Regions from separate parts of the Homo sapiens genome. Here regions 1, 3 and 4 are each linked to region 2. Evidence: promoter capture Hi-C in 16 types of primary human blood cells and fetal thymus (Javierre and others, 2016). All regions are on one chromosome and are shown on one strand. The core of a region is centred on a gene start or on the middle of the fragment in contact, and the rest is flanking DNA. Distances in the headings are between cores, read along the strand shown.

Region 1 (5,681 bases), core at 2,495-4,994, 160 kb before region 2:
AAAACTGATCATTGTATGAGATAGAAAAATAAATATTTATGAAATAAAAAATGGCAAATGATTTTGCCTAGTTATCAAATAAAAATACATTGTTTTTTTCCTTTAAAATTACAATAAAAAAACTTTGAAGGACACGAAGCGAAATCACAGGGCAGATAAAGAAAAATATAGCATTACTATAAGTAAACAAGGCCTAAGCTTTGGATATTGAAAGCACTATCTGGAATTTGACTTAAGGCCAGGACCTTCCATTTTGTCTCCCCTTCCTTATTTAAATGGAGGTTTTTCTTTACCCATTTTATCACAGCTATAAAAAGTCCTGTTATTTTCCTTTTCCTCCATTTCTCCAAAATGACTACATAAAGTAGGGATGTAGATTATCTTTCTGATTAACATTTGCCCAAAACTTAACTCAGATGATTTTACTTAAATTCCTATAATATACAAACTTCATTGAAACTACAAATCTTTCTCAAATGAGAGACCCAAATCCACTCTGAGAAACTGTTCTAAATAGCTGCCTGAATATTGCCCAACTTTAAAGACTATCTGAAAAGATAAGGCAAACAGAAGGCAATTCACAGTGGGAAAAAAATTAACATTTTTCTCTAGTGACCTACATATTTTTTCCCTAAACAAATGCCATATTGAAATGCCAAGAATTTCATATTTATACAATGAAAAATAATAGCAAGTCAAGCTGAAGGGATATATATATGTGTACATGGGGGGGAGACAGAGAGAGGGAGAACAAGTGAGCTTGATTGCCATTTGTCAACTAAGTAGTATGGGAAAATAAGGGAAAATAAATATTGCAGTAAGGTTAGCAGCTACACAAAGACTAAATTTCTTGAAGAGGTGCTTAAAGGTCTTGTACAGAGGAATACAATCCCTTGCACAAAGGAATACAAATGTTTAAAACCAAATACTTGGCTGGCTGGACATGGTGGCTTAAGCCTGTAATCCCAGCACCTTGGGAGGCCAAGGCAGGTGGATCACTTGAGGTCAGGGGTTCGAGACCAGCCTGGCCAACATGGTGAAACCCGCTCTTTACTAAAAATACAAAAATTAGCCGGGTGTGGTGACACATGCCTGTAATTCCAGCTACTTGGGAGGCTGAGGCAGGGGAATTGCTCCAGCCCAGGTGGCGGAGGTTGCAGTGAGCCAAGATTGCACCACTGCACTCCAGCCTGTGTGACAGGGCGAGACTCCAACTCAAAAAACAAAACAAAACAAAACAAAAACCAAATACTTGGATAGATGACCACTTCATCAAATTCAACTTCATGTTGAATTAATTTAATTACTGGCATGTAAACCAAACATTATTGAGAGGTTATCAACAAATACTGCTCTGACTTGAAGCAAGAGAAAAGCCTCAGTCTACAGCCAGAGAGAAGGATGGCATCATTACTTATGCAATCATCTTTCAATTCCATTTCCTTGGCTCTACAAGTAAATGAAAAAGAAGAGATGGAATACAAAGTTTTTCATATATATGAGTTAAAATTTCAGAGAACTAAATTTTTGTCAATAAATACTAATAAATGTTCCATTGCCCAGGAGCTTAGGAAAGCCTTGCTACTGAGGCAAAAGCAGAGGAAGTGTTAAAGAATGCTATCTAGGCCAATCTCCCCAGGAGGGCTGAGAAATGCAAAACCTCTACAGTCCATCTAGTCAGAATAACATATTTCAATTGCTCCAAGTGTTTCTTTTTTTAAAATACTTTATGGTTGTGCTTTTCTTAAAGAATACAAAAAGCAAAGGCTCTGTCCTTCAAAATATCATACATTAATGCAACAAAAAGCTATTTCTTATATTCTTTTATTCTGCGTTGCATCCAAACATTGTTTCACTTTGATCATTCATCTCCATAAAATTTGAATTGCTAAATAAGGCCTACTCCCTAGATACCAAACTCCATACCTAACAAAATGGCAGTTTACAAAGGTCTTAGATACTATATCCCAAGAAGTATATGCAGCATAGAGGTGGCCAATATTCAGAAGCTACATTTTCTTATACTGCCCAAGTGATCATGAATAACCAAAACATTTGAAATGAATTAAAATTACTTATGGTCAGAAATGCACTTGAGGATAAATCCCAGGAATGCAAACACAGGAGAAAAAAAGTAAGTGTAGAATTCATTCTGTATCACCCAGTAATATTTGCTATAGTGAGTCCATTTTCAAGGCAGATTCCTAGGTTTTTAATGTTTGTAATGAAAACCTGGGGAGGGGAAGAAAAAAGGAAACACAATTAAGGAAAAACCTTTGAAACTCAAACAGCTTTTTCTCCCTGCCCAAGTAAAATAACTTTATTTCTATACATTTCTAATAGTACTTTATTCTTGATTGTGACATATATACAGAATCAATGTGTTAGTTTAGTATTATGCATCAAATGTATGTCAAAGACAGTAAGGTACTCCCCAAAAGGTGATACATGTAGTTTGAGAAAGAAAAATATGAGCTACTTCGTTAAATCGGGAACAGTGAAAATGCCACCAACTGATGGAAGTTGAGGTGGGATGTGTTGATGAAGATGTTTATAATGTCCAACTAACCTTACTTTTAAAATAATGCCTTTTGTCTTTTTCTCAGTATTGGATGTGAGTCAGAATGTGGGGGTGGGGGAGCTTCTTAAAAATGCAAATGCTTGACAACCCCCATCCAGAGATTCTGATTGAAGTAGTCTAGAGTGTCATTTTTGCGATGGTATTTTTAAATGACAGCAGAAAATGTTATTTAAAGATATTTGGGGACATTATTATTGACTTGGAAATGAATAACAATATCACCTAAGTCTTCAAAAATCATAACAAATAAACAGCATCAATTAATGAGATATAATATATTTGCAAAGTCTACTGCACTGTGCAAAATTCTTTCACATATTTAATCTTTTATGATCCTGACAACTCTGACACTTTCTATTTAGACTGCCTCCATTTTGCAGATGAGGAAGTTAATATGAGAAACTACCTTTTCACCATTTCATTTTACAGCTCTCATAAAAATGTACATAAGTGAACGCAGATCCTTGCAAGAGCAAATACGTTCCTCTGTCAGAGGCGTTTGAACCAGAGAGACTCCATCTTTAATAGGGGCTGGATAAAATAAGCCTGAGACCTACTGGACTCCATTCCCAGGAGGTTAGGCATTCTAGGTCACTGGATGAGATAAGGGGTTGGCACAACACACAGGTCATGAAGACCTTGCTGATAAAACAGGCTTTGGTAAAGAACCTGGCCAAAACCAAGAGGGTGACAAATCTGAACTCTGGTTGTCCTCACTGCTCATTATATGCTAACTATAATGCATTAGCATGCTAAAAGACACTCCCACCAGAGCCATGACAGGTTACAGATGCCATGGGAACATCAGAAGTTACCCTATAAGGTCTATAAAGGGGAGGAACCCTCAGTTCCAGGATTTGCCCACCCCTTTCCCAGAAAACTCATGAATAATATACCCCTTGTATTAATCAGCATATAATCAAATAACCATAAAAATGGGCAACCAGCAGCCCACACTGCTGAGCAGCCATTCTTTATTCGAACCTTCTTCTTGGAGTCTGAATCGGGACCCTTTTCTGGAAACAAATTTTAAAGGTTTCGTCCAATTGAGGTATCCCTATTTTTTCTTTATGCTTTGTTCCATTTTTCTTTTGCATAACAGTTATGTGGGAGGTGTGCATGCATATTTTAAATCTAATTAATAAGAGTCATGGGCAGATAGGAAACAAGAGCCACTACAGAAAATGCAGTCCTACAGATCTAAATGGAGGTCACCACCACCTTTTAAGAATCTGATGAAAGAGCTGGGTGCGGTGGCTCATGCCTATAATCCCAGCACTTTGGGAGGCAGAGGCAGAGGGATTACTTGAGTCCAGCCTGGGGTGACATGGTAAAACCTCATCTCTACAAAAAAAATACAGAAATTAGCCAAGTGTGGTGGCACATGTCTGTAATCCCAGCTACTTGGGAGGCTGAGATGGAAGGATCACTTGAACCCAGGTGGTGGAGGCTGTAGAGAGCCAAGATCATGCCACTGCATTCCAGCCTGGGCAACACAGTGAGACTCCGACTCAAAAAAAAAAAAAAAAAAAAAAAAAGTGAATTTGATGAAAGCGTTGTGCTCCCTCTCGAGGAAAATGCAAATACACAGAATATCTTACATAAAATTTAGGGTGTTCTGTTTTCTGTTTTGTTACTGTTTTAATAAATGAGGAGTTCTATAACAATGTGCTGACAGAATAACTTATTTTTCCACTCTAGTGGAACACAGAATTTGATTTTTCCACTACAACACGAGGCTTATATAAAAAAAGAAGATCCTAAACTTGACCATACATACTCTTCTTACCTTTATGAGAGGACTCTGATTTTGAGAAATGCCGTGTGGAACTCTGCTGGTTTGTAAAATGAGTGTAATCCGCATCTTCACCATCTGTCATGATAGGTGGTGGTGGCCTAAAAGGAATCCAGAATTTAAAGGGGCATTCTAAGTAACGCTTACTACAACTCCACCCCTCTTACTGGATTGCAAGCTAAAAACATTTTCTTGTGAAATGAAAAGCCAAAATGCTTCAGAATTCACACTGTAGTTCCTGGACAGTTGCATGGCCTTGAATAAATTATTTATCTTCCCGTTCCTTTGTTTTGATGTCATAATTCAATACAAACAATTATCTCCTCAACAACTAATACATGTTAGGAACTGGGCTAAATAAACAAAGATTAGTGAGATGTGACTGCTGCCATTTATAAGAAATAAACTTTGTTTTGGTAGGTCTTACCAAGTCAAAGAAAAAATAACAGAATAAAGAACAGAAAAGAAGAAAATAATAAAGCCAAGGAAGAAAGGAAAGGAAAAAAAGAAAAAAGGAAGGGTAAGAGACAGAAAGGAGGGAGGAAACAGAAACAAAATTTCATGAGCAAAGTTCCTTTATCCACTAGGTGGCAAAACAGATCTTAATACATTTGCAAATTCTATGTAATACATTCGCAACTTTTTATGTCAAAAAATGTAAAAAAAAAAAAAAAGATATAATTTTTACTACTCTAAACTTTTTATTAAAATTACTTAACATAGATTTATGCAAACATGTAGCACTGAAGCAGAAAACCTCTCATTCTTTATCTCCCAAAGGTATACTCAAAGTTTGCACTAAAGGATAGCACCAGATTATCAAATTTATCAATATATCAAAGATTTATCAAATATAACCATACTGTAGGCCATTTTGTACATTTATATGTAAAATCTAGAAGGCATAAGTATTCTGAAGTTTGTAAAGTTATAGTTGGTTTGGTACAATGGGCTCTGTCATGTAAAAATAAAAGCAAGTGTTTCCAAATTTTTTATCTTGTCGCCATGCAATAAATCTTTCCCTGGGTATTCAGCATCCCGAAGAGGTCAGCATGGGATATAAACTGGCATATGTGCTGAGGACCATGCTACAGGTTCTACACAGATTATCTCAATTAACTTTCAGGACAAGTCTGTATGCTAATGCTAACTATCATATACATATTTGAGTCAGATTAGGTTAGATGAGGTAAATAATCTGTCCATTTTCACACAGCTGTTAAGTGGCAGACCCAGGGCTCAAACTCAACTGGATTTCAAAACCAGTGTTCTTAACTACTCTACTACATAGGTGTGTATTTTTAT
Region 2 (6,043 bases), core at 3,165-5,664:
TCATGAACCTTGAGAAGCGAATGAAACTTTTAAAACTTCTGTTCAGCAAATGTATTCATACAAAAATATCCTGTAGAATGTTCTTTTGAGGGTTAGGGTCTGTAATATACTTTGCAAAGCCTATATATGGAATCAGGTATTATCCCTTTTGGGAGAAAGTTTTAAAGCTTCATACATAAATTGGGTTGGGAGAAAAGGTAAAAGGACTGTCCCATCCTATGGTCTTGAGCTGAGCTGAGAAGAGGACTGCAGTAAAGAACAGTCACTGGCAACAATGGCCCAAGATCATTATGCTCAAAGGCATTTCCCACTGTGTAAGAAGGCAGCATTTAAAAGGGCGGCACACTCTTGTGAAAGAACATGGAATCTCCTCAAATCACTACCCCAAAGGGAAAGTTAAGTTCGGGAACTGAGTCAATACTACTGCCTTCCTTTTGTTTCTAAACTGATAGCTGTAATTCCACAACGCTGTATCACAGCCTCGTTTCCTCTACTCCCTCTTTTCACATGTTTACTTTATCTTATGTAAACTGTAGATTTACTGAGCATGAGAGAATGCATAATTGACTTTTCCCTCTACTTCCTCTTGTCATATGTAAAATGTAGATTTACTGAGGCTAATCAGAGCCTCACAAGAATGGAAGCATCTGCCTCACTGCCTGCCCTTTCTGCATTTTTCCCCCTCCTGCATGCTCTTTCCCCTTGAAAACACCCTTTGGAAAAAGCACAGGTCACAGGTGCTCCTGTGACTTGGATTTTTTTCCCCGCAAGTATCTTCAACTTTGGCCAAATATACCTCTGTTGATTGAGAAATGCCTCAGTCACATTTTGATTAACACTGTATCCCTTTTTTGTGTTTCCCACACCTGAAATGGAGCTCATTTTCAACTATGTCCTCTGGAGATGACCAAATAAGAGCTAAAAAAGAAAAGCATAAACCTTGAGATGCCGCGATTGGCTCAGTTCTGTGGCATTTCTTCACAACAAATTAGAAAGAAAATAAAATGTTAGACTTTTTACCTTAATCTTTGGGATTTTTGTCAAGAAGGGCAATCATATCTGACAAATTGAATCTGGCATTGCTATTCTCAACTTTAGCCTGAACCTGTTGTTACAGTGCATAGAGCTGTACTGGGGCATGAACAGGAACGGGGCAGAAGAGGGCCCCCACATCCCACCAGGAAAGTCAGGTGACCATAGGTGATGGTCAGGCATTTGTCACACTGCCTCTCTAAAATAATAATTGGTCACAGCCAGCACCAGGGAAAGGCAGTTTCTCTATAGATCAGAAATATCTGAAACTGGTGATTGGCATCTTCCTGATAAGATCTCAGGTGTTGGGTGAGTTTGCTCAAGCATGCGCTTTAAGAGGTCAAAAGGTGGCATTTAACTGGTACATGACCTTCTAGGGGCATTCCACTGAAAGAAGGATGCCAGGTGCTGGAAGCAGGCCAGCATATAATACCCTAAGGCCAAGGTCAAATGGGGCACTTGACCTCCAAGATGCCTGCTTGGCCTTCTTCCAAGTGTACTTCACTTTTCATTCCTGCTCTAAAGCTTTTTAATAAACTTCCACCCCACTCTAAAACTTGCCTAGCTTTCTTCTTCTGCTTTATGCCCCTCAGTCAAAGTCTTTCTTCTAAGGAGGCAAGAATTGAGATAGCTGCAGTCCCGTTAGGATAGAAATCCATATATCATGGATACAGTAATTCTAAAACTATTCATTTAATGCATATATTCTAAGTGAATCTCACTGTTCCTGGCCTTTGACAAATATCTTATTCACACAGAACTTTAATTTCTTTGTAGAAAGTCGCTTGAGGCAACGCATAATTGACTTTTGCCTCTACATCCTCATTTCACATGTAAAACCTAGATTTACTTAGGCTAATCAGAGCCTCACAAGAATGTCAGCATCTGCCTCACTGCCTGCCCTCCCTGCCATTTTTCCCCTCCTGCTTGCTCTAGCAGCTTTGTAGAAAGCTACTTTCTGCAAAGAAATTAAGTGGAAAGTCACGGCCTTGGAGTTAAACAATCTGGCATGTAATTTATATCAACATAATCTCAGGGAAATCATTTTATCTCTCCGAAAACATAATAAAATGTGGATCCTAATGTCAGAGGCATTTGAACCAGAGTGACTCCATCTTGAATAGGGGCTGGGTAAAAAGAGGCTAAGACTTGCTGGACTGCATTCCCAGAAGGTCAGGCATTTTAGTCAGAGGATGTTTACAGTTAAGAAAACAAGTTAATAATGTTTATGGAAGAGATCCAGGACTTAGCAGGTCCAGAAAATATCCTGATGTCACGATATCTTAAGAACAAAAGTATTCTTAGTTTAAGAGTAAGTTTCACTTTAAAGATAATAATATAAATTATTGTGGAAGACAGTAGTTATACAAAGATTAACAATCCTTTGTCCCAAGCCCTTGTAGTAGCGCACATCTCCCCAAGGATTGTTTTTTTTTTTGCGTTATTATCTTATATATAAACAAGCATTATACCTAAAATGGACGCATTCCTCCTCTTGCTTTTGGGCCCTACTCTCTATGGAGTAGGCATTTTTTTGTTTCTTCATTTCTGTAATAAAATTGCTTTCACTTTACTCTGTGGACTTGCCTTAAATTCTTTCTTGTGTGACATCCAAGAACCCTCTCTTGGGGTCTGGTTCGGGACCCCTTTCTGGTAACAATACCTCCTTCTTAGTGTGTGATAGAGATTTTTAAAAAAGAATGTACCAGAATATTAAAATGGGATGCTTTCTATCTCAGTTTTTGGCTGTGGCTTTAAAAGGCTGAGTAAAAAAGAGACAGAAAGAGAGAAAGTATGTGGGAAGTATTTCGTTTTGCATTCCAAAGTGAGGTGCTAGACTTATGTAGTACTTCCAAAGGAGGTTGCTACAAACTTAGTTTTTTCCAACTTCAATCCAATAAAAGGATTCATATTGAATAGCTCAGGAAGGGAGAATTTCTTGGGAGCAAGTTATTGAAAAACAATGGCATTTTCCTTCCTCCTTCATATGGGGAAAGGGCTTTGAGAAAAACACTTCGAGTTTAAAATATGTCCATTGAAGCATGGTGAACCTAATAAAATAGTGTCTATGAAATCTAAAGGGCAAGAAGCTGTGAGAATTGGCTTGATACCAGACTGAAGAGATGACTGCACCAAGAACTGCTTCACTTTCAGTAATGAGAGTCAAGGATGTGGGTTTTCTGTGGGCAGATGTAGAGCATGTGGAGAGAGTCAGCCTGGGTCAATTATAAAAGGGACCTTGCCCCAAGGGCTTTCTGTCAGGGCTGATGGGGGAAGCAAACTCATCAGGATGCTGATGGTGGTGTCAAATGCAGAAGATGAGAGAGTAGGGTGAGGATGAGGGGCATAGCAGATCTGCCAGAAGAGGAGTATTATTGGAGGTAAGGACGCCTATGTTACTATTCGCACTGGGGGTTATGTGACCCCCAGAAACATTCCAAGATGAGTCAGCTTTGAGCATTCACCAAAGCCATGAGGGCACAAAGACAGGTCATGATATTATGTCAAGTAAGACTTTGTTTTACTTCTCTGCATGCATCTCCATCCCCAGTTCTGGAGGAGACAAAAGGCAGCCTACTGTGATAGGGGAGATTGTGAATATAAACTGGCCACAAGCTCCTTCCCACTGAAGCCTTCCAGGATGAATGGGGTCCAAGCTAGGGAAAAGAGAAGCTTTATTAGTATTCATGGTTTGGGGTCACATATAAGAATGGTTATTTGAATTACTGTTATATGGTTATTTTTCTAGTACAAGTAACCATAGGGATTCTTATTATTTTGATGTGGCCAGTAGAGCCATTAATACCTGCCTTTGGGTTTACTCAAGGGGTAGGGAACAACAACTACCACTGAGTGGGTTGGAATGCATGGGGATGGGAGGAAAAGCTGTTTTTTCTGATTATGACTTATGGAGTTTTTCTCTTTCAATTAGGTGGTATAATAACAATATTCTGGAGCAAAGTGTTTCTTGACCTAAATCTACAGAATGTGTATAATTTTGCTGGCTATCTTCCCTCTGCTCTCAGATGTATGCTGCCTTTTCTCACCCTACTTTCAGTCCTAGGAGGCTGATCTTTTTGGAACATATAAATGTTCCTGTGCCCTCTGGCTTTGGTGTGGATCAAGCAATAGATAATTTGGGGAAGACAGAATAGAGGAAGAGGAGGAGAGAGGTCAGGATAATTTTCTCCTGGCCACTCCTTGCAAGACCTCTTCCCGGGAGTATGCTCCTGAAGAAAAGTCACTACTTTTCTTTTCTTTTTGTGCTTTGCTTTTTTTTTTTTTTTTTTCAGATGGTGTCCCGTTCTGTTGCCCAGGCTGGAGTGCAATGGCGTGATCTTGGCTCACTGCAACCTCTGCCTCCCGGGTTCAAGCGATTCTCCTGCCTCAGCTTCCCAAGGAGCTGGGATTACAGGCGCGTGCCACCACACCCAGCTAATTTTTATATTTTTAGTAGAGACGGGGTTTCGCTTTGCTGGCCAGGCTGGTGACAAACTCCTACCCTCAGGCGATCCACCTGCCTCGGCCTCCCAAAGTGCTGAGATTACAGGCATGAGCCACTGCACCCGGCCAAGTCACTACTTTTCTCAAGGCATCTGAAACTCTGTGACTCTCTGACTTTTGGAAACCTCTTCCTTTCTTGTCTTTTCAGGCCACCGTGGGCTGCTGTGCCATCCATTATAATCTACCTGTACCCAGAGTTTTGTAAATAGTCTTCCTTTGAAAAAACCCTCCTCAAATTTTCCTATTTCAAAGGTGACACCTATTTCTTGTTGGAACCCTAACCCAATAGCATTTCTTGCTTTACTGACCTAAAATATTAAATGGGAGAATTAAAGCAATAAGAGTTGTACAAATATTTAATAGTAATTGAATTCAAATATAGAGCACTATTATTGTTATTATTTGCAAGACATTTTTAGTGTTGTGTGAAGGAGTGAGAGAAACCATTATTTAGAAAAATTCTAGGCCAATCATCAATTTTTTTTTTTTTGAGATGGAGTTTCGCTCTTGTGACCCATGCTGGAGTGTAATGGTGTGATCTCAGCTAACTGCAACCTCCGCCTCCTGGGCTCAAGTGATTCTCCTGCCTCAGCCCCCAAGTAGCTAGGATCACAGGCATGCGCCGCCACACCCAGCAAATTTTGTATTTTTAGTAGAGATGGTGTTTCACCATGTTGGTCATGCTGGTCTCAAACTCCCAACCTCAGATGATCTGCCTGCCTCGGCCTCCCAAAGTGCTGGGATTAAGGGCATGAGCCACAGTGCCTGGCCGTCAATATCTTCTAATGTTAAAGAGTCAGTCAGATAGTAGATACTATTCTTCCAGAAAAAAGTCAGGGCGTGGTAGCTCATGCCTGTAATCCTAGCACTTTGGAAGGTTGAGGCAGGCAGATCACTTGAGATCAGGAGTCCCAGCTACTTGGTAGGCTGAGGCAGGAGAATCGCTAGAACCCGGGATGTGGAGGTTGCAGTGAGCTGAGATTTTGCCACTGCACTCCAGCTTGGGTGACAGAGCAAGACTCTGTCTCAAAAAACGAAAAAAAGAAAACAGAAATAAAATGGTAACTTCAGACTTTAAACAAGTGAATGGAAATGAGAAAAATATTTTGGGCTTCAAAGTATAGTTGAGTTAGTGTTGCCCGGAGAATTGAAGTAATTTGCACATGAATCAGAAAATGAAGCTAGTGTCCTATTCAGGTAAAAATGTGTTAAGCAATACAAAATAGGAAACAACAGGTGGTTCTTTATTTCAAGTTAATATGACCTGATATAGGGTTTTCCCTGTTTAGCTTTTTATATTTGTTTCTTTTCATTTTTGTTTTCCCTAGCTTTCATGAATTTTTTTGTTTCCATCTCCTGGTGGACCTTTTTGAAAGTAGAGTTAATTTCCTTTTTCTTTTCTGATATTTTATAGTAATATAGAATTAAATAATATGTTTTGTACCCTGGTGACTCAGAGTTTTAAAATCTGGGATTATGGAGCAATATAATTCAGGGGCCTATACGT
Region 3 (6,511 bases), core at 1,304-3,803, 170 kb before region 2:
GGAACAAAGTTTTTGTATGCTATTGAAGTTGATGTCAATTCAAACTAGACTGTTACAAATTTATTATGATAAATGTAATCCCCATTGTAGTCACCAAGACAATATTTAAAAAAATAAAAGAAACTGAAAAAGGAAGCAAAACAATTCATTTAAAAATATCAACTAAACACAAAAGAAAATAATAATAGAGAAAATGAGGAACAGAAAAAAGGATTTATCCATTTGGAAGACAGATATCAAACAAGCAGAAGTCCTTCTTTAACAAAAGTTACTTCAATTGTCAATGGATTAAAATTCATTAATGAAAAGGCAGTGGTTGGCAGAATGGATTTTTAAAAAATTATTCAATTATATTCTGTCTACAAGAGACCCACTTTAAATCTAAAGACACAAATAGGTTAAAGTGAAAGGAAGGAAAAGAATATTCCATGCTAATGGTAACCAAAAGAGACCTGGGGTAGCTATACTAGTACCAGGCAAAACTGACTTTATGTCTAAAAAAAATTACAAAAAATAAAGACATTCTATATTGATAAAAAAGTAAATTCATCAAGAAACTACAAAAATTATAAATATATATGCACCAAACATAGCTTCAAAATATATAAAGCAAACACTGACAGAATTGAAGGGAAAAATAATTTTACAATAATAGTTGAAGGCTCCAATACACCACTTTTATTAATGAGAACATCTAAACAGTTGGCCAATAAAGTAGTAGAGGATTTGAATAACACTATAAACCCATTAAACCTAACAAACATATATAGAACACTCCACCCATCAACAGCAGAACACACATTCTTCTCAAGTGCATATGGAACATTGTCCAGAATAGACTATGTTGGGCCAAAAAGTAACTCTTAATAAATTTAATAAAGTCAAAATCAAAGTATCTTCTTTGATCACAATTTAATGAAATTGGAAGTCAATGTAATGAATATGGAAAAACTACAAATGTGTGAAAATTAACACATCCCTCTAAAACCAATGAGATAAAGAAAAAAAATCAAAAGGTAAACTAGGAAATACTTAGAAAGTAATAAAGATAAACACACACACACACACACACATACACACAATACCAAAATTTAGAGGATGAAGCACAGGCAATACTCAGAAGGAACCTTATAACTGCATATACCCATATAAAGAGAAAAATCTCCAACCATTAATCTAACTTTATACTTTGAGGAAACAGGAAAAAACTAGCAGGAAGGGGGAAAGAATGAAGATCAGAGTAGAGATAAATGAAATAGAGAATAGAAAAACAACAAAATCAACAAAACCAAAAGTTGTTTATTTGAAAAGATAAATGAAATTATAAGCCTTTAGTTAAGACTGACAAAAAGCAAAGCAGCAAATAACTAAAATTAGAAATAAGAGTAGAAACATTACTATCAATCTTACAAAAATAAAAAGGATTATCCCAAATTTACAAAAATAAAAAAGATTATAATAATATGAACAATTGTATACCCATAAGTTAGATAACCTAGATGAAAAGAACCAATTCCTAGAAACACAAATTGCCTAAACCAACTCAAGAAGAAATGAATAATCCCAACAGACCTGTAGTAAGAAATTGAATCAGTAATTAAAACACTCCCAGTATGGGCGCGATGGCTCATGCCTGTAATCTCAACACTTTGGGAGGCCAAGGCAGGTGGATCACGAGGTCAGGAGATCGAGACTATCCTGGCTAACACAGTGAAACCCCATCTCTACTAAAAATACAAAAAATTAGCCGGGCATGGTGGCACGCGCCTGTCGTCCCAGCTGCTCGGGAGGCTGAGGCAGGAGAATCGCTTGAACCCGGGAGGCAAAGGTTGCAGTGAGCTGAGATAGTGCCACTGCACTCCAGCATAAGTGACAGAGCGAGATTCCATCTCAAAAAAAAAAAATTTAAAAAATTTAAAAAGCATAGGACCACATGGATTTGCTGGTCAACTCTCTAAATAAATAAATAAGAATGGAAAATAATCCTTCCCAAACTCCTCCAAAAAATAGAATAGGAGGCAGCAATTCCTAACTCATTCTAAGAGGTAAGCATTGCCCTCTCATGCCCACTTTCACTGCTGTTACTCAATATTGTACTGTAAATTCTAGGCAGAAAAAGTAGACGTAAAAAAGATATAAAAGGCTGACATAGTTTGGATATTTGTATCCTCCAAATCTCATGTTGAAGCATTATCTCCAGTGTTGGAGGTGGGGCTGGTGGGAGGTGTTTGTGTCACAGAGGCAGATCCCTCATGAAAGGCTTGGTGCTCTCCCCATAGTAATATATTCACATGAGATATGGTTGTTAAAAAGAGTCTGGGAACTTCTCCCTCTTTCTTGCTCCCTCTCTTGTCATATGACATGTCTGCTTTTCCTTCACTTTCCACCATGATTGGGAGCTTCCTGAGGCCTTCACCAGAAGCAGATGCTGGTGACATATTTCTTGTACAGTCTACAGAACCATGATCCAAATAAACCTCTTTTCTTTATAAATTACCCAGCCTCAACTATTGCCTTATAGAAATACAAAATTGACTAATCAGAAAATTGGTACCAAGGAGTGGGGCATTGTGATAACAACGCCTGCAAATGTGGAAGCAGCTTTAAAGCTGGGTAGTAGGCACAGGTTGGAATAGTTTGGAGGGCTCAGAAGATGACAGGAAGACAAAGAAAGTTTGGAACTTCTTAGAGTCTGTTTAAATGATTGTAACCAAAATGCTAATAGAAATATGGAGAGTGAATGCTGGACTGATGAAGTCTCAGATGGAAATGAGGAACTTACTGGGAACTGGAGCAAAGATTGCTCTTGTAATGCCCTAGCAATGAACATCGCTGCATTTGCCAATGCCCTATGACTTTGCAGAAGACTGAACTTGAGTGATGACTTAGGGTATCTGGTGGAAGAATTTCTAAGCAGCAAAGCATGCAAGATTTGGTGTGCTAGCTTCTCATGGCCAGTGATCAGATATGGGAGCACAGAAAGAACTTACAGTTGGAACTTATCATTAAAAGGGAAGTAGAGCATAACAATTTGGGTAATCTATACCCTGGCCATGTGGTAGAGAAGGAAAGAGCATTTCCAGGTGAGGAATTTGAGCAAGCAACCATTGCTAGAGATATTAGCATGAATAAATGGGAGTCATGTCCTAATAGCCAAGACGATTTTAAAAAAGGTCTCAAGGCATTACAGAAATATCTGAGGTGGCCCTTCGCATCACAGGCCCAGAGGCCTAGGAGCAAAGAATAGTTTCAGGGGCCAGGCCCAGGGTCCTGCTGCTCTTTGCCACTTTGGAGAGATGTTCCCTGCATTCTGGTTGTTCTAGATACAGCCAAAGCTCAAAGGGACCCAGGTACAACTCAAGGTGCCATTCTGGAAGGCACAAGCTATAAGTCTTGGAAGAATCCACATTGTGTTAAGTCTGCAGGTGTGCAGAATCCAAGAGTGGAGGAGGTTTGGCAGCTTCCACCTAGATCTCAGAGGATGTATCAGAAAGCCTAGGTGCCCAGGCAGAAGCCTGCTATAGGGGCAGAGGGTTCATAGGAAACCTCTACTAGGACACTGCCAAGGGAAAATGTGGAGTTGGAGGCTCCACACACAGTCCTCACTTGGGCATTGCCTCGTGGAGCTGTGGGAAGGGGTCCACTGCCCTCCAGACCCCAGAATGGTAGAGTCAGCAGCAGTGTGCACCTTTAACTTGAAAAGCTGCAGACAATGGACTCCAACTCATGACAGCAGCCACATAGGCTGCACCAGCAAATCCACAGGGGTAGAGCTGTCTAAAGCCTTGGGGACCCACCCCTTGAACCAGTGTTCCCCGGATGTGAGCCATGAAGTCAAGAATTATTTTGGAGCTTTTAGGTTTAATGTCTTCCCTGCTGGGTTTTGGACTTGCTTGCCAAGTCTGTTGCCCCTTTCTTTTGGCCAATGTCTCTTTCAGAATGAGAATGCTTACTCAATGCCTGTATCACCATTGCATCTTAGAAGTAAATAACTTGCTTTGATATTACAGACTCATAAGTGGAAGGAACTTGCCTTGAGTCTCAGATGAGACTTTTGACCTTCAAGTTGATACCAGAATGAGTTAAGACTTTTAGGGACTATTGCGAAGGAATGATTACATTTTGCAATGTGAGGAGGACATGAGAGTTGGGGACCCAGGGGCAGAATTATATAGTTTAAATATTTAGATTTCAACTCCAAATCTCATGTTGAAATGTGATCTCTAATGTTGGAGGTGGAACCTAGTGGGAGGTGTTTGGGTCATGGGAGCAGGCCCCTCATAAGTGGCTTGGTATTCTCCCCACTGTAATGATTTCATACGAGATCTGGTTGTTAAGAAGAGTCTGAGACCTCCTCCCTCTTTCTTGCTCCCTCTCTTGCCATGACACACCTCCTATCCCTTTGCCTTCCACGATAACTGTAAGCCTCCTGATGTCCTCACCAGAAGCAGATACTGGTATTATGCTTATTGTACAGCCTGCAGAGCCATGAGCCAAATAAACCTCTATTTGTTAGAAATTACCCAGCCTGAGGTAATTCTTCCTAGTAATGCAAAACAGACTAATACAAAGCATCTCAATTTGAAAGGAAGAAGTAAAACTACCTCTGTTTGCCTATGATATAATCCTATATATTGAAAATCCCAACGAATCCACAAGATAGATACTGGAGTTAATAAGTGAATTTAGCAAAGCTGCAGGTTATAAGATCAATAAATAAAAATCAATTGTTTCTATACACTAGTAATGAACAAACAAAAAAGGAAATTAAGAAAGCAATTCCATTTACAATAGCTTCTAATATTCCAAGGAATAATAAGGAATAAATTTAACCACAGGTGTGAAAGACAATACACAATAAATTACAAAACATAATTGAAAAAAATTAAAATAGCATAAATGGACATTCCATGATCATGGATTGTAAAACCCAATATGGTTAAGATGGCAATGTTACCCAAAAGACCTGTGGGTTCAATGCAATCCTTATCAAAATTGCTACAGTATTTTTGTAGAAATGAAAAGGCTAATCTTAAAATTCATTTGGAATTGCAATGGGGCCCCTGACAGCCAAAATAATCCTGAAAAAAACACTGGAAGATTCACAATCCCCAATTTCAAAACTTACTACAAAGCTCCAGTAATCAAAATAGTGTAGTAGTGGCATAAGGCTAAACATATAGACCAGTGGAACAGAACTGAAGTCCAGAAATAAACCCACAAACTTATGGCCAATTGGTTTTCCTCAAAGGTGCCAAGTTGATTCAATGAGAAAAAGAAAATTTCTTCAACACATAGTGCTGAGACATACAGTAGGTTTCCAGATACAAAATAATGAAGTTAGAGCCCTATTTCACACACAATTACGATGACTATTAGGGAAAAAAAGAGAAGAGAACAAGTGTTGATGAGGATGTGGAGAAACTGCTGATAGGAATGTAAAATGGTGCACTCATTATAGAAAACAGTTTAGTGGTTCTTCCAAAAGTTAAACAGAGAGTTACCATATGACCCAGCAATTCCTACATATATAACCAGAAGAACTGAAAATAAAGACTCAAATACTTGTACTACAATTAAACATTATTCACAATAGCCAAAAGGTGGAAACAATCTAGTGTCTATGAATAGATAACTGCATAAACACAATGTGATATATACTTAGAATATTCAGCCATAAAAAGGAATGAACTGCCAAAACACGTTACATGAGTGAACCTCGAACACAGTATGCTAAGTAAAACAAGCCAGACATGAAAGGAGAAGTAGGTTGATTCCACCTTTATGAAATATCTAAACCAGGCAAATTCATAGAGACAGGTTACATTGCTAGAAGTTGGGGAAGGGAAAGAATGGGGAATTACTGCTTAATGGGTACAGAGTTTATATTTTGGGTGACTGAAAAGTTTTGGAAATACTAATAGTAATGACCAACACTGTGAATAAAATAAATATCACTGGATCGTACACTTAAAATAGTAAAACTTCATAATTTGTTATGCAGATTGCATAATAAAAAATACACCAGCAAAATAAATAAATGCAGAACACACTAAAAGAAAAAAAGGAAAAGAAATTGCCAAAACAGCTTTAATTTTCCATTGGAGGAATATGAAATAATACCCATAGATTTCTTTTTTGAAAGAGTAATAAAAAGGAACATGTTTCACTAGACATTAATTTAGTAATTTGAAATGTGGCACTAGACAAAGGTAAGAGAATTTTTTACACAGAAAATATACAGAATTAGAACTATTACAATAGTGGATTTCAAATCTATAAAAAATGACTTGGCTGTTTAATAAATAGCATAGGCAGAAATAAAAGAAAATAAAACTACATCACAATGAATTCCTAGTGAAATAAATCTCAAAGCCTAATTAAAATGAGAGATTAAAATATGTAAATATTGGAGACTTCCATTTCTAGGAAATAAAATAGACATACTTTTCCCTATCCCTCCCACTAAATACAACTAAAACACCTAAACATCATATTATAAAACCAACAT
Region 4 (6,154 bases), core at 481-2,980, 190 kb before region 2:
GGTGACATGAGGCAGATCCTATGATCATTTGGGGCCTCAGTTTCCTCGATGTATATATCTGCAATGGAATAGTGAATTGGTTTTCTAGGACATAAAGATATGTTTTTAGCAAACATTTAACAAAATTCAAACCTTAATGAGCAGACATGCTATGGCTGGTTTAGTTGCAGTAAATGTATTTATTTAAAAATGTTCAATGTTTTCCTGCTGAGAGTGCATCTGAAATAGTTACCATCTGATTATAAAGAAAATGGAAAACTAAATTTCAAGAGAAAATGACCTCTTCTCTTCATAAAGTTGAAGGCTAAATGAAAGAACAAACAAAGACTGTGGCCGAGGAACCATAAATCAGGAGATTAAAATATTCCTTCTATATACAGAAATAAATAACCTACTTTTCTTCCTTAGGCATGGCTTTTAGCAAAATACACTGTTTTTGAATTTGAAATGAAACAGTTTTTCATTTCATTTAAACATGTGGCTCTCAACCGATGGGAGACAAAAGACAATTAAGTATAGTCTATTGCTTGCAGAAGCATTCAGATTAGTAGGGGCAGTGTTCCCAAGAAATCAATGGGGTCTAATCAGAACACCCAAAATCCAAAAGTATACACCTTGTACAAAACATTATTTCTTCATAATCTGTAAGTCGTTGTATTAGTCTGTTTTCACACTGCTGATAAAGACATACCCGAGACTGGGCAGTTTACAAAAGAAACAGGTTTATTGGACTTACAGTTCCATGTGGCTAAGGAGGCCTCACAATCATGGAGGAAAGTGAAAGGTACATCTCACATGGCGACAGACGAGAAGAAAGCGTCTGCAGGGAAGCTCCCATTTTTAAAACCATCAGATCTCGTGAGACTTATTCACTATCACGAGAACAGCACGGGACCCGCCCGATGATTCAATCACCTCCCACCAGGTTCCTCCGGCAACATGTGGGAATTGTGGGAGTTACAATTCAAAATGCTATTTGAGTGGAGACACAGCCAAACCATATCAGTAGTAAACTAGATAGAATGGATTTTTAAAAAGTGAAGAAAGAGAAAAAGAGAGGGAAGGAAGGAGAGAGAGCTGTATTATTTAACTTGGCAGAGACTTATAGTGAGCACATTCATTCACTTGTCACAATCTTTGGGATCAGCTGTGTTTTTGAAGCAGCCCAGTATCCAGGGGTCACCTTTTGCCAGCTGCCTGGGTCCTGTTGCTTTTGATCACTTTCTCTGGCAGATGTGATGTGATTCTATTTGCCAGCTCGCTCCTTTGACTTTGCTAACTCAGTGCACACTGCTCTCATCTCACTAGCAGGGCTGCCTCTGGGTGAAAGCACTTACTCCTGCCAAAGGCGATCTCCCCTTGGAAGGGCAAGCCCCTGTCATCACCTGACAGCCCAGACTCCCACGGCAGATGCAGCTCTCCCTCTGGTCCTGGTGTCAGATTCAAAGGCCTGACAAGCTTCCATCAGCAAAAGCTCTCTTTTAATTGCTATAGATCAAAAAGTGCTGAACATGTCCATCAAAATAGAGTAGAACAGGATAGAGGAAGAGAGGAAAGATTAGGCATTTACCAAGATAACCCAGGGTTTCTTCATGCCACCTGGTCCCATCTGATTAATGAGGGGGTCATTTTCCCACCAATACCATAAACAAAAAGCAACCAATTTCATTGTCTGTATCAATATACGGACATGTATTTTCTGCCATGTATTTTCTATTTCCTATAATTTGTCCCTACAGTTACCTCATATTTCCATTAGGGGACACCCGCCAACACACACCCACACCTACAAGAGAGAAAGAGAGAGAGCCCTTAACCGCATTTCTTTTTTTAATTTTACATACTTGTTATTCCTTTGTTCTTTCCTATTGCATTCTATCGACATGGCAAAAAACTTGATTTTCATAGCTGGAAATGGGCTTCACTAAACAGAGTCTAATAGTTGAGTAAACTAAGGCCAAGAGAATTGATCTGACTTCTGCAAGGCTACACAGAAGCTTTACCTACTACCCCACTTTCTATTTAATGTACCCTTCTATTTCATGACTATGCTAGCTATATTTAAATAACTTGATCTAAAAGCTCCAGAGGCAATCACACGTGCTCGTTGGAAACCAAGCCCACTATGCCACATTGGCCCTGCCACTCAATAGCTTCCTTCTCTGTACAGTGAGACGTGCAGCCTTCCCTACCTCGCAGAGGAGTTGTGAGCATTGCAACTACTGTCTTGGTAATGCTATTCAGTCCAAACACACAGTGAGTTCTAATTTATCGACTATTTCTTTTTTTTTTGTTAACTTTCATGTTAAGTTCAGGGGAACATGTGCAGGTTTGTTACGTAGATAAATTTGTGTCATGGGAGTTTGTTGAACAGATTATTTCATTACTCAGGTATTAAGCCTAGTACCCATTAGTTATTTGTTCTGATCCAGTCCCTCCTCCCACCCTCTACCCTCTGAAAGGCTCAGTGTATGTTTTTCCCCTGTGTTTGCCCATATGTTCTCATCATTTAGCTCACACATGCAATATTTGGTTTTCTGTTCCTGCGTTAGTTTGCTAAGGATAATGGCCTCCAGCTCCATCCATATTCCTGTAAATGATATGATCTCATTCTTTTTTATGACTGCGTAGTATTCCATGGTGTGTATGTACCACATTTTCTTTATCCAGTCTATCACTGATGGGCATTTAAGCTGATTCCATTTCTTTGCTATTGTAAATAGTGCTGCAATGAACATATGTGTGCATGTGTCTTTAGAATAGAACAAATTCTATATTCCTTTGGGTATATACTGAGCAATGGGATTCTTGGGTCAAATGGCATTTCTGTTTTTAGGTCTTTTAGGAATTGCCACACTGTCTTCTACAAGGGTTCAACTAATTTATATTCCCCCCAACAGTGTATAAGCATTCCTTTTTCTCTGCAGCCTCACCAGCATCTGTTCCTTTTTGACTTTTTCACAGTCATCATTCTGGCTAGTGTGAGATGGTATCTTATTGTGGTTTTGATTTGTATTTCTCTAATGTTCAGTGATTTTGAGCTTTTTTTCAGATGATTGTTAGCCGTATGTATGTCTTCTTTTGAAAAGTGTCTGTTCATGTCCTTTGCCTGCTTTTTAATGGGGTAGTTATTTTTTCCTTGTAAATGTCAGTTCCTTAGAGATGGTGGATATGAGACCTTTATTGAATGCATAGTTTGCAAAAATTTTCTCCCATTCTGTAGGTTGTCTGCTCACTCTGTTTATAGTTTATATTTTCCTTTGCTGTGCAGAAGTTCTTTAATTCTATTTGTCAATTTTTGCTTTTGTTGCAATTGCTTTTGGCATCTTTGTCATGAAATCTTTGCCTGTTCCTATGTCCTGAATGGTATTACCTAGGCTGTCTTCCACGGTTTTTATAGTTTGCTGTTTTATATTTAAGTCTTTAAAACATCTTGAGTTAATTTTTGTATGTGGCATAAAGAAGAGATCCAGTTTCAATCTTCTGCATATGGCTAGCCAGTTATCCCAGCACCATTTATTGAATAGGGAATCCTTTCCCCATTGCTTCTTTTTGTAGCCTCGACTATTTCTTAAGTAGAAATTAGTATTCAGAAGAAGTAAAACATGTATAGTTTACTCAACTTATTTAATGCATCTTAATAAGTTAGAGACCAGCGATCTCCAAAAATTGAGGTTTTCGTGATTTTTTTTTTTTTTGGTGGATCAACAGATTGACAAATGTTATTTTCCCAAGTAAACAAGTTTCTAAAATTCTCGCTATCACATTTGTCCTATAAACTAAAAAAAACTTAAATTCAAAGTAGAATAAAGGGCATAATTTGAAAATCAAAAATAATCCTTCCCCAAAACAAATAATACTTTTGATTCTGATGTGAAAATGCTGTCATGGACCAGTGTAACAAGCACTAGAGTTTGCAAGCCCTGTGTTTTTATCTCATCTCTAATAACAAAGAGGCATGTTGCCAGAGACTGCATGTAGCCCTCCTTCTTCCCATCTTCCCATATGTGCCAGGAAGAGGCAAAGCTCAGGGGCTTTGACTGAGAAGACATTTTTCCAGGACTCTAAATGAAGCAGCTACCAGTAACTGAAAACTTATCCAGTCTTCATCAAATCTGCACATAAATTCGATTTGCCAAAGTCAGTATCCAAAAAAAAAAAAAAAAATTCATCAAACACAGACAATAAGCGAACCTAACAAAATGAATGCTGGAAAAAGAGCAAGCTCTGCCCTTTATTGTAAAACTCACCTGTACTTCTGGTGATGTTCATAAAAACGGTGTATGAGAAAATAGACTGAAAGCTTAATAAAAGATCGATGTGGGCTGTGACTGCATGAACGGTGTTCAAATTTAGGAAGCAATAGCTTGAACTCAGTTTTGTAGCATTCAGACCATGCCTGGAGGTGAGATTTCAGCAGGGACAAAGACAGACTAAAATAGGCAAGAGGAGACAATCAGAAGTGCAAAGGCCCTGGGCTGTATCATAAAAAGATACTGATGACCCCAGGGATGTCTATGTCAGAGTAGTAAAATTTCAGGAGCAACAGTCACTGTTTTCAGAAGGCTGAAGAGCTGTCATGCAGAAGAGAAAATAGAACTGCCAGAGCCACACGAAGGTCAAAATGATTGGAAACGAAGTAAAATAGACTTATACAGCAGAAAGAAAAAAATCTAACTCTTACAGTTGCTCCCCTCTCCCCAGCCCCCCCAAAATGGAGTGATTTTCTTGAGCAGTGTTGAGTTCCTTATACTGGGAAGTAAGGAATGTCCACACCAAGGAGTTATACCAGAAAGTCTAACAAAAATAAAAAAGATGGTGCTATACATTCCAGCTAAGAGCTGGAAATCTGATAATTCTACTGTATAATCTTGAACATCTCCCAGCTACTTTCTCAGTCTTGCTTTGTCCACAAGTGAGGCTATTATATATAATAAACTCAGAGCATCTTTGCAGTTTGAATATGCTCTGGCTTTTATCAATAAACCTATCTGGGTTTTTTCCTTACCTTTGATTATGCAGCTATCATTTATTGACTATTTTCCTTGAAAAGGGCACTGTAAAATGTTGAAGTATGGTATATTATTATTCCCATTTTAAAGATAGAGAAGCTAAGTTTCAGAGCCCATACATAATTTTCCCAAACCACACAGCTGGCAAGTCAAGGACGTAATTCTAAATCCAAATCTGTCTAAAGCTCTTAAACCACATGGTGCATGGACTGAAAACATTTAAAATTTATTATCTTGAAAGGATTCTCATTTTGTCCTAGCAGCATTGCCAAATCCTATGCCTATAAATTTACACAAATTCCTGATTACCCAAGGATTAACTTGGAGATCAGCATCATGAAATTGTTGCCCTTCCCCGATCTGTTTTCTTTGATATTAATACAAGCTTCCATGATAATTCCTCTTTTCATGTCCTGGGACTCACTGCCCATAAAAATGATACTTCCAACAGCGTAGGATTATGGGTCTTTGTGTTCTCAACCATAGTTGCCTCTCTTTGCACTCCACTTCAGTTATTTACTATATGGGCTCAAGACCTATACCATATCTAAAATATTTTCTTTCTGACTATAACAATTCATCCTTTACACTAATCCCCTTATTTCATGACCCGTGAACTCTGATCTTGTGGTGATCTGATGGAAAACTTTTCCCTACTCTCCAAGAATGTTACTTCTTGCCCCCCTGGCCTCACCCAAAGATCTCATAGTGCTTTACCTTAACCTCTTTCTCTCCTCTGGCTCTAGGCCTCCCTGTTACACATGCCCATCTGAACCCCAACAATGCATCACTCTCAACCATTCACCTCTTCTGCTTCTACATATGGGTTGCCGATGTGGCTGCTGAAACCAAGCAACCATGAAGATTGATGCCACAATAAATGAGCACAGTCCAATCACAGCTGTTTTCTCAATCTACAGTGCTCAGCAATTCCTAGTCAGTCCCCTCTATCATTTAGCTCAGCTCTTCTTCTAAACTGTCACCATTCTCCACAAGCTTCTAAATCTCACTGTTCTATTGTAGAACATAACTTGTCGTCATATTTCACGTTCCTCAAACTTCCTTGCCTCCTCGTTCTCAACACAGGAAATTCCCTTCTACTACACAGAAGGAAAAAAAGAAATCAAAAATAGAAATTCCAT

What was found. The method cuts DNA at HindIII sites, captures the fragments that hold promoters and counts their contacts. A CHiCAGO score of 5 or more calls a contact.
Region 1: a contact is called between a fragment that was not itself captured here and the fragment with the promoter of OSTN-AS1 in region 2, in 2 of 17 cell types (total B cells and naive B cells). The highest score is 12.2, in total B cells.
Region 3: a fragment that was not itself captured here is called in contact with the fragment with the promoter of OSTN-AS1 in region 2 in 2 of 17 cell types (naive B cells and total B cells); the score reaches 6.5 in naive B cells.
Region 4: a fragment that was not itself captured here is called in contact with the fragment with the promoter of OSTN-AS1 in region 2 in 2 of 17 cell types (total B cells and naive B cells); the score reaches 8.3 in total B cells.

Annotation. Positions count from the first base shown.
Region 1 is chr3:191,388,292-191,393,972 of GRCh38, reverse strand. CCDC50 (coiled-coil domain containing 50) reads right to left here. Exons shown (of 12, transcript NM_178335.3): 11 at 4,371-4,477; 12 at 1-2,232. The coding sequence ends at 2,213. Among named protein-coding and RNA genes, the nearest start is that of PYDC2-AS1, 34 kb to the left of the region's middle. The HindIII fragment of the contact is 7,087 bases long and covers 201-5,681 here.
Region 2 is chr3:191,232,976-191,239,018 of GRCh38, reverse strand. OSTN-AS1 (OSTN antisense RNA 1) reads left to right here and starts at 4,414. Exons shown (of 6, transcript NR_133663.1): 1 at 4,414-4,447. The region is part of intron 3 of OSTN (osteocrin); the gene reads right to left. The HindIII fragment of the contact is 7,111 bases long and covers 3,708-6,043 here.
Region 3 is chr3:191,402,514-191,409,024 of GRCh38, reverse strand. No RefSeq gene overlaps it. Among named protein-coding and RNA genes, the nearest start is that of PYDC2-AS1, 20 kb to the left of the region's middle. The HindIII fragment of the contact is 9,329 bases long and covers 1-6,511 here.
Region 4 is chr3:191,420,187-191,426,340 of GRCh38, reverse strand. It overlaps PYDC2-AS1 (PYDC2 antisense RNA 1), which reads right to left and starts at 817. Exons shown (of 7, transcript NR_120606.1): 1 at 737-817. The HindIII fragment of the contact is 539 bases long and covers 1,461-1,999 here.